3 separate regions of the Homo sapiens genome follow, and regions 2 and 3 are each linked to region 1. Evidence: promoter capture Hi-C in 16 types of primary human blood cells and fetal thymus (Javierre and others, 2016). All regions are on one chromosome and are shown on one strand. Each heading gives the region's core, a stretch centred on a gene start or on the middle of the fragment in contact. The rest is flanking DNA. Distances are from core to core; before and after follow the strand shown.

What was found. Contacts are between HindIII fragments. The CHiCAGO score rates a contact against its expected background, and 5 or more counts as called.
Region 2: a contact is called between a fragment that was not itself captured here and the fragment with the promoter of CFAP53 in region 1, in 1 of 17 cell types (total CD8 T cells). The highest score is 5.9, in total CD8 T cells.
Region 3: a fragment that was not itself captured here is called in contact with the fragment with the promoter of CFAP53 in region 1 in 16 of 17 cell types (total CD8 T cells, activated CD4 T cells, non-activated CD4 T cells and 13 more); the score reaches 16.0 in total CD8 T cells.

What each region holds. Positions count from the first base shown.
Region 1 is chr18:50,265,175-50,267,872 of GRCh38, reverse strand. CFAP53 (cilia and flagella associated protein 53) reads left to right here and starts at 1,378. Exons shown (of 8, transcript NM_145020.5): 1 at 1,378-1,537. The coding sequence starts at 1,469. It also overlaps a transcript of MBD1 not described here. RefSeq lists enhancers at 1,413-1,482, 1,653-1,782, 1,129-1,974. The HindIII fragment of the contact is 1,610 bases long and covers 1,053-2,662 here.
Region 2 is chr18:49,446,921-49,449,618 of GRCh38, reverse strand. The region is part of intron 1 of DYM (dymeclin); the gene reads left to right. Among named protein-coding and RNA genes, the nearest start is that of DYM, 12 kb to the left of the region's middle. The HindIII fragment of the contact is 1,875 bases long and covers 410-2,284 here.
Region 3 is chr18:49,502,142-49,504,839 of GRCh38, reverse strand. All of the region lies in intron 2 of LINC02837 (long intergenic non-protein coding RNA 2837), which reads right to left. Among named protein-coding and RNA genes, the nearest start is that of LINC02837, 4.1 kb to the right of the region's middle. The HindIII fragment of the contact is 1,708 bases long and covers 531-2,238 here.

The DNA of each region.
Region 1 (2,698 bases), core at 129-2,628:
ATACAAAATCCGAAGTGGGTGGTTTACAAATGATTAAGGAATGCTAATTTACAGTAAATTGCGTCCTTAAGAGGGCATACACATTAGTTGTACTTATTATATGTCAGTTTGACGTAGGTACTGATTTGTTGCATGTGCTCACAAGTGTTCTATGCTCACCCCCACTTTAGAATGGGAGTATCACAGTGTCATTCTTAATTGGCTTTTAGGTATTACCACCTTGCTCTTGACTGGAAATGCAACTGTGGTTACCACCTGTGCTGCAGGTCCGTCCTGGTTCCCTGATTTGTGTTTCCTGTTCTGCCTGGATCCTGATTCTCAGAAACCAGTTACTGGACTTCTGATCCACATCCTGACCCTGGTCCACTGTGACCCTCAGACTCTTAATTATGCTCCACCAGGTCGTGCCACTGCCCCACTAGTCCATTTGATCTGCCCCCATCCTAGGATATCCTGAGTCTAAGCCCTGGTTTCTGCCAATGGCAAATAGGAAGATTTTATTAACAGGTTTTAAAAAATTATTATTATTACTGGTTATTTGGTTTGACAAGGCACTTAGGCTCCCTGAGCTTTGCCTTAGCTGGAAAATAAGGATAGTATTACTTGCTATTCTATCAACCCTGTAAGATATTTGCGGCCACGCGCGGTAGCGCACCCTGTAATTCCAACACTTTGGGAGGCCGGCGGGAGGGGCAGTGGGGAGGATCGCTTGAACCCAGGAGCAGGAGTTCCAGCCTGAGCAACATAGCGGGACCCCCTGTCTCTTCAAAATTTGTTTTTAAATTAGCAGGGCGTGGTGGCGCAGGCTTTGTAGTCCCAGATACTCTGGAGGCTGAGGCCCAGGAGGACGAGGCTGCAGGGAGCCATGATCACGCCACTGCACTCCACCCTGGGCGACAGAGCGAGACCTTGTCTCAGAAAAAATCTGTGAGGTTAAAAGGCTGTGTGTGTGAAAATATCTTGGAAATTGTAAAGAACTACACAAATATAAGGTTTTCCTGTGATTATTACCGTCATCAAGATTAACCTACAGATAGTGCAAAATTTAAGCTTCCCAAAAAATGTTCGCTAACCTTTTTCATACTTTTAGACCATTACAAGATATAAATAGCAAAGTCAACTGGAATTGTAATTAGAGCTTTGATTTTTCTTGGGCTAGAGGTTTTTTCTGCCATTCTGATGAACCCTGGAGGAAGGGAGCAAGGTCGGCGGGATTTGGCCGAGGGGCGGGGTGAGGACTGCGCAGGCTCAGCTTCTCAGCTGGAAGAGGAAGTCCCGAGTGCAGGCGTCTGCGGCCCCCATGGTGACCAGACCGACTTCCGCCCGACCCGCCCACCTCTACCGGCCCCTAATCCCGCGAGGCGCACCATGGCAACCAGACTTCTGCGTCGCGGAAGCGGGTCCCGCAGGTCGCCACGGTTGGGGGAAACGCGGCGGACGCCGCCCCCGTCCCGAAGGGGACTCGAAAATGTACAGCCAGCGGTTTGGCACCGTACAGCGGGAGGTTAAGGGCCCCACCCCCAAAGTGGTGATCGTGGTAAGCACAGGATATGTCTGCCAGACCCTACAGCTTTCTCCATCTCTCCGCACTCCAGGCCTGGCCTATCCCACTTCGGCCCCCACCCGGGGCCTTCTCGAGGGGAACGGGTGTCGCCTGATGCAGTGGGTTGAATTTTGAAAGAAGGAAGATAAGGTCGCTCACCTATCTACCCCACCTCTCACCCACTCATCTCCCTCTGTTTTCATCCTTACAGCCTTTCATCTGCCCCCAAAGTTATAATATTTAGGTTCTGTTTTTGGAGAATCACCACTAGGGATCTTAGGGTTTTTCAGTCTCCAAGACACCGGAAGGATGTCTGTCCCCCATGCAGTGGCGAGTGTGTGTTATGGAAAGGGCACCCGGCCCAGAGACAGATCTGGGGGCAGGGCGGGCCTATGATTTGGAGCTGGTCTTTCACTCCTAGGAAAATCGTCTGAGGAAGGGGAATTAGGTTGTGAGTGGTTATAGCACCCAACGCCTTTCCTGTGCCAACTCAACCAGTAACCATTGCTGGACAGAAGTGTCCCTTCAGACCTGGGAAAAACTCAGGTGCCTGCCTCTAAGGCTGGAGTGGTAGTAGGCCAGGAAAATGTGCTTGCTGCAGAATTTGATGGTTCCTGCTGAGAACCTCAGACACTATTGGTCCATACATGTAGATTTTTTTGTTTCTACAAATTAGTTTCTACCCACCAGAAAACTAACATGTAGGCAGAGTTATTGCTTGAGCCCCTGCTGTGTGCGCAGTATTGTGGGAGATACAGGGGTGGATACAATGATCCTGGAAGGTTAACTCTTTATTGAAGCCTGAGCCCTCCCTTCAAGGAGCTTATACAAGTCAAGTATCCCTTATCTGAAATGCTTGGGACCAGAGATGTCTAGGATTTCAGATTTTTTTTTTGGATTTTGGAATACTTGCATATACATAATGCAATATCTTGGGGAGGGGACCCAAGTCTAAACACAGAATTTATTTATATTTCATTACCTCGAAGGTAATTTTATTTTCCCCTTGGGGATGCTGAATAAATATGTGTTGTTTGCTTGTGTTTTGACTGTGACCCCTTACATGAGGTCAGGTGTGAAATTTTCCACTTATGTCATCATGTGGGTGCTCAAAAAGCTTCAGATTTTGGAGCATTTCAGATTTCAGATTTTCAA
Region 2 (2,698 bases), core at 98-2,597, 820 kb after region 1:
CCCTTTTGCCAGCATGTCAGGCTTCTGGGTTCCCTTCCCATTAGCTCAACTCTAAGTCAACCATTTTAAGGTTTGGGGAAATTAACTTTTCCTACTTTGGAGGAACATTATACAGGAAGAGATAGGAACCATTGTACACTGTGAAAGAAGGAAAAACACCATAGAAAAGTCTGGGGATTCCAGTTAGGGTTGTCAAGAGGTACCGCCTCTCTTCCTATTGGGAATTGTGTTTCTCTTATTTCTTTGCCTTCCCTATTTTCTCTTTTCGTTTTAGGCCTACTATAGGAAACGTTGCTTATCTTTCAATTTCTTTGCTGCCTGCTCTTCAGCTGTAATTAGGGTTTGGCTTAGAAGCAACATAAAATCTCTTCATGAGAGGTGAAACACCTGAGTTAAATTTTGGAAAGCTTCTATATACCTATCAGGGTCTTCAGAAAATTGGCCTCAGTCACCTTTATTTGCCTAAGGTCTTGCAAAGAGGAGGGAACTTGAACCCTAGTGACATCACCTCCATTGGGCATTTCCTGTAGAGGTAAGAGTGAAAGTGGGGAGTGGGAAATTTTGGAGATGGTGGAGGTGGAAGAACTGGTGGTATGGTTGGAGGTGGCCCTAAATAAGGGGGACTTGAAGGGCTGGGACACCCAATAGCTGCCTCAGATGATTTCCCCAGAAGTTGCTTCTCTCATTTTGGGGAATTATTCTCTTTGGGCCTGCTCAATATGATTGCTAAAAGGGCTGGGTTAATTCTGTAACGCTTGCAAAGGTCTAGTAAAAAGGCCATGCCCTGTGCAAAAGAAAATGAGCTGCTTTTTAAAGTTTCAGGGTCAAAGAAATCCTTGTGCTTCAGAATGCACTCCAGGGGAGTGCAGGATGAAGATGGTACCCACTTAGAGAAAAAGGTGGCCCTTTAGTCTCCTTCCTTTTGGTGTGACCCATGGTGGAGAGGAAGCAGTGGGGGCATCCCCCCTGCTTTTTTCCCCCTGTGTTTCCTGGGTCCCAGGCACCTTGTTGAACATGCTGCCCATGGTTGCAAGTGTGACCCCCAGTCATGGAACCAGAGGAACTAAGTCACTGGGGCTAGTCATGCTCACCCAAGTGGCTGTAGTCCTCTGCCTGTGATTTCCCTTTAACTTCCTAGACTTGTGTGACTTGCCTGGCTTCCTGAAAAATGGATTTCAAGAAAAACTACATAATAGTTGGGCAAGGCCCCTTTAATGCAGGGGATGTGCTAGATTGAACTCTGTATCCTGCTATTATGGCCTGTGCTGAAGCATTTACCCTTAGATAATGGTTCCAGTTAACTTCCAAACTTAAAATTCCCTTACTAATTAAGTACTACTCTAATTGAAGGCAGAATAGGTGGCTTAAAAAAACTTAGGGATTGAATGGCCATTTTCCTGCTGATGAGACAGTATTGAGACTAAATTTTGGCTTTGGAGGAATATTTTACCCCTAATTGTTGAAGGCAGAGTTTTCTCATTTACAGAACCAGCATAAAGCCTGGTTTCTAGTAGAGAGGCACAAAAAGGAAAGAGAATTGGGAGGCTAGGATGTTTCATTGGACTGACAGTGTGCTTCATGGAGAGGATTCCTATTTCACTAGGTGGCGCTGTTGACCTTGAAACACCACATACTCTCTAGACCAAGGGCAGAGAGAGACCTGGAAAATGCCATGTGCTCTCCAGACCAAGGGCAGAGAAAGAGAGATTCTCACTGTTGGGGGGTCAGGGAGCCCTGTTCTTAGAAAATCACAAAGACGCTTCCCCTTGAGCTATATGCCTTGTTACTACGACATTCCCTGATCTTACCAAACAAGACTACTTCCCTGAACCATAAAACTTCCCACACATTTCATACAGAGAGGATAAGAGATATGACGGTTGCGAACAGGAGAGGAGGAGATTACAATAGGAAAGTTGGAGATCCTGTTGCCGACACCGCATTGGGGCGGTTGGCGGCTGGGGTCCAGAAGCCTTTGGATAACACCAGGGGGTAGCGCCGGCCAGAAATCCTCAGTTGCCCCAGGACTTCTTCCAGCCCCACACGACAGCTAAGTCCTCCATGAAAGGTCTAAAATGGAAGCCGAGAACCTTGGAATGAAAGGACAGAGTTAGAGTTCGCTCTTCCCCTTACCGTTCTTATGAATGTTGTACCTTGGTATCCCGGACAAAGCTGCCATTATGAAGTGGCTACACTATCTGGGGTGTATACCCTAGGGTTTGTTGTTGCCTGCCGAGAAAGAATTAGGACACGGACATGTGGGTGGGTTAAGGAGTGGAAAGCTTAATAGACAGAAGAAAGGAGAGAGGAGAGCAGCTCCTTGAGAAAGAGACGTGTTCGAAAAAGGTACTTTCTGGTCTCTTATGCTTCTGCTTTGATTCCTTTTCTGTTCCAGCCATGTTAAACTTCTTTCAGGTCCTTGAACAGGCCCTACCTGTTATTTCTTAACCACAGGGCTTCACACGTGCTGTTCTCTGCTTTGGAAGTTTCTGAACTCCCACATCCACCCAGGCCAACCCTTCTTGTCCTTTAGGTCTTAACATTTTTTTTTTTTTTTTGTGATGGAGTCTTCCTCTGTCTTGCCCAGGCTGGAGTGCAGTGGCGTGATCTCAGCTCACTGCAGCCTCTACCTCCCGGTTTCAAGTGATTCTCCTGTCTCAGCCTCCCAAGTAGCTGGGATTACAGGCGCCTGCCACCA
Region 3 (2,698 bases), core at 135-2,634, 760 kb after region 1:
ATAAAATCATGTCATCTGTAAACAGGGACTATTTTACTTCCTTCTTTTCAAATTGAATGTCCTTTTTTCTTTCTTTTGCCTAATTGCTCTGGCTAGGACTTCCAGTATTATGTTGTAATTCAAGAAATATTTGTTGAGAACTTATCATAAACAAAAAAATTATTCTAGGCACTAGAGGAAAAAAAAACAGACAAGAACTATGTCTTCTGCCAGGCACAGTTGCTCATGCCTGTAATCCCAGCACTTTGGAAGGTCGAGGTGGGCGGATCACCTGAGCTCAGGAGTTCGAGACCAGCCTGGCCAAAATGGCGAAACCCCCTCTCTACTAAAAATACAAAAATTAGCCGTGGTGGCATGCGCCGGTAATCCCAGCTACTGGGGAACCTGAGGCAGGAGAATCATCGAAACCCGGGAGTCGGAGGTTGCAGTGGGCCAAGATCACGCCACTATACTCCAGCCTGGGCGACAGAGCAAGGCTCTGTCTCAGAAAAAAAAAAAAAAAAAAAAAAGAACCATGTCTTCATGAAGCTTACATTTTTTGAAAAGGAGATAGAAATTTAAGAAGAAAACTAATAAATGTGATAATTTCATTCAGTGAGATATGTTGTGAAGACAATAAAACAAGATTATGTCAGAGAGGAGCTCCATAGACTGAGTGTCAGGGAAGGAGTTAAGGCTTCAGTGACTGGAAGAAGCCAACACGTGAAGACCTAGTTGTAAATCATTGGAAGGAAGGGCAAAAGCAAAGGCATCAAGACAGGAATGAGTTGACTGTATCCCTGAAGCAGCAAGGAGCCAATGTGGCTGGAGCAAAGTCAGTGCAGAGGAAAAGTATAGGAAATGAGGGCCTGGAGCTAGATCAGCCTGCACAGCACAGTAAGCAGTTTGGACTTTATTGGGTGTGAAATGTGAAGTCTTTCAAGGGTTTTAACCTGGGAAGTGCTTTGGAGAGAAGTGGGGAGTGTTATATTATATAGTTTATATTTTTTAAAGATTACATTTTCTGGTTATAGTTATCATAGTTCTAGAAACTGTATTTTAGGACAACCAAATCACCCCAGTTAATAAGAGAAAGCTCTTTTTACAAAGAATGCCAAGCTATTCAGATTAAAGAAAAATAAAGAGACATGGCAACCAAACACAATGCCTTATTCTGAATTTGGCTCTTCGTCCAAAAAAAATTCTATAAAAGATATTGTTGGGAAAATTGGCGGCAATTAAATATGGTCTCTAGGTTAGATAATATTATTATAGTAAATGTTAAATTTTCTGATTCTAAAACTGATTATGAAAGAGAACAACCTGGCCAGGCACGGTGGCTCATGCCTGTAATCCCAACACTTTGGAAAGCCGAGACGGGCAGATCACCTGAGGTCAGGAGTTCAAGACCAACCTGGCCAACATAGTGAAACCCAGTCTGTACTAAAAATACAAAAATTAGCCAGGCGTGATGGTGGGCGACTGTAATCCCAGCTACTCAGGAGGCTGAGGCAGGAGAATCACTTGAACCCCGGAGGCAGAGGTTGCAGTGAGCCGAGATCGCGCCAATACACTCTAGCTTGGGTGACAGCAAGCCTCTGTCTCAAAAATAAAATAAAAAGAAACAACAACCAGATGTCATGTGGGACCTAGATTGGGTCTTGCTTTGTTTCTGGTTTTTTTGTGTGTGTGTGGCTGCTTTGGTTGGTTGGTTTGTTTGTTTGTTTGTTTGTTTGAGACAGAGCCTTGCTCTGTCACCCAGGCTGGAGTGTAGTGACATGATCTCAACTCACTGCAACCTCTGTCTCCCAGCTTCAAGCAATTCACATGCCTCAGCCTCCAGAGTAGCTGGGACTACAGGTGTGTGCCACCACACCCTGCTAATTTTTTCTATTTTTAGTAGAGACAGGGATTCACCATGTTGGCCAAGCTGGTTTCGAACTCCTGGCCTCAAGTGATCTGCCTGCCTCAGCTTCCCAAAGTGCTGGGATTACAGGTGTGAGTCAGTGTGCCTGGCGGGTCTTGCTTTGAACAAACCAACTGGAAAGGACATTTGGGGAACAACTGGGATAACTGAAATTGAGGTTAGGTATTAGAAGAGATGAAAATGTATCAACATGGTAAAATTGAGATTAACTGGAAAAAAATCTGATTATGAAATAGCATGTACAGTATAATTTCACCTGGTAAGTATATATGTATATACATACACACATGAAGTATATATCTCACACTATACTAGAAGGATATATTAAAGCTTAATCTTTTGGAAATATAAGGATTTTATTTTCTTAATCTGCTTACCTGCTATATCTGACTTTCTATAAAACACATATAAATAATCTTAAATTTTTGAATAATTTTAAAATTTTACTTATTATTTATTTATTTATTGAGATGGAGTCACTCTGTCACCCAGGCTGGAGTGCAATGGTGCGATCTTGGCTCACTGCAACATCTGCCTCCCGGGTTCAAGAGATTCTCCTGCCTCAGCCTCCCGAGTACCTGGGATTACAGGCACGCACCACCATGCCCGGCTAATTTTTTCTTTTCTTTTCTTTTTTCTTTTTCTTTTTTTTTTTTGAGACAGAGACTCGCTCTGTCACCCAGACTGGAGTGCAGTGGTGCGATCTCGGCTCACTGCAACCTCCGCCTCCCAGGTTCAAGCCATGCTCCTGCCTCAGCCTCCCAAGTAGCTGGGACTACAGGCGTGTGCCAC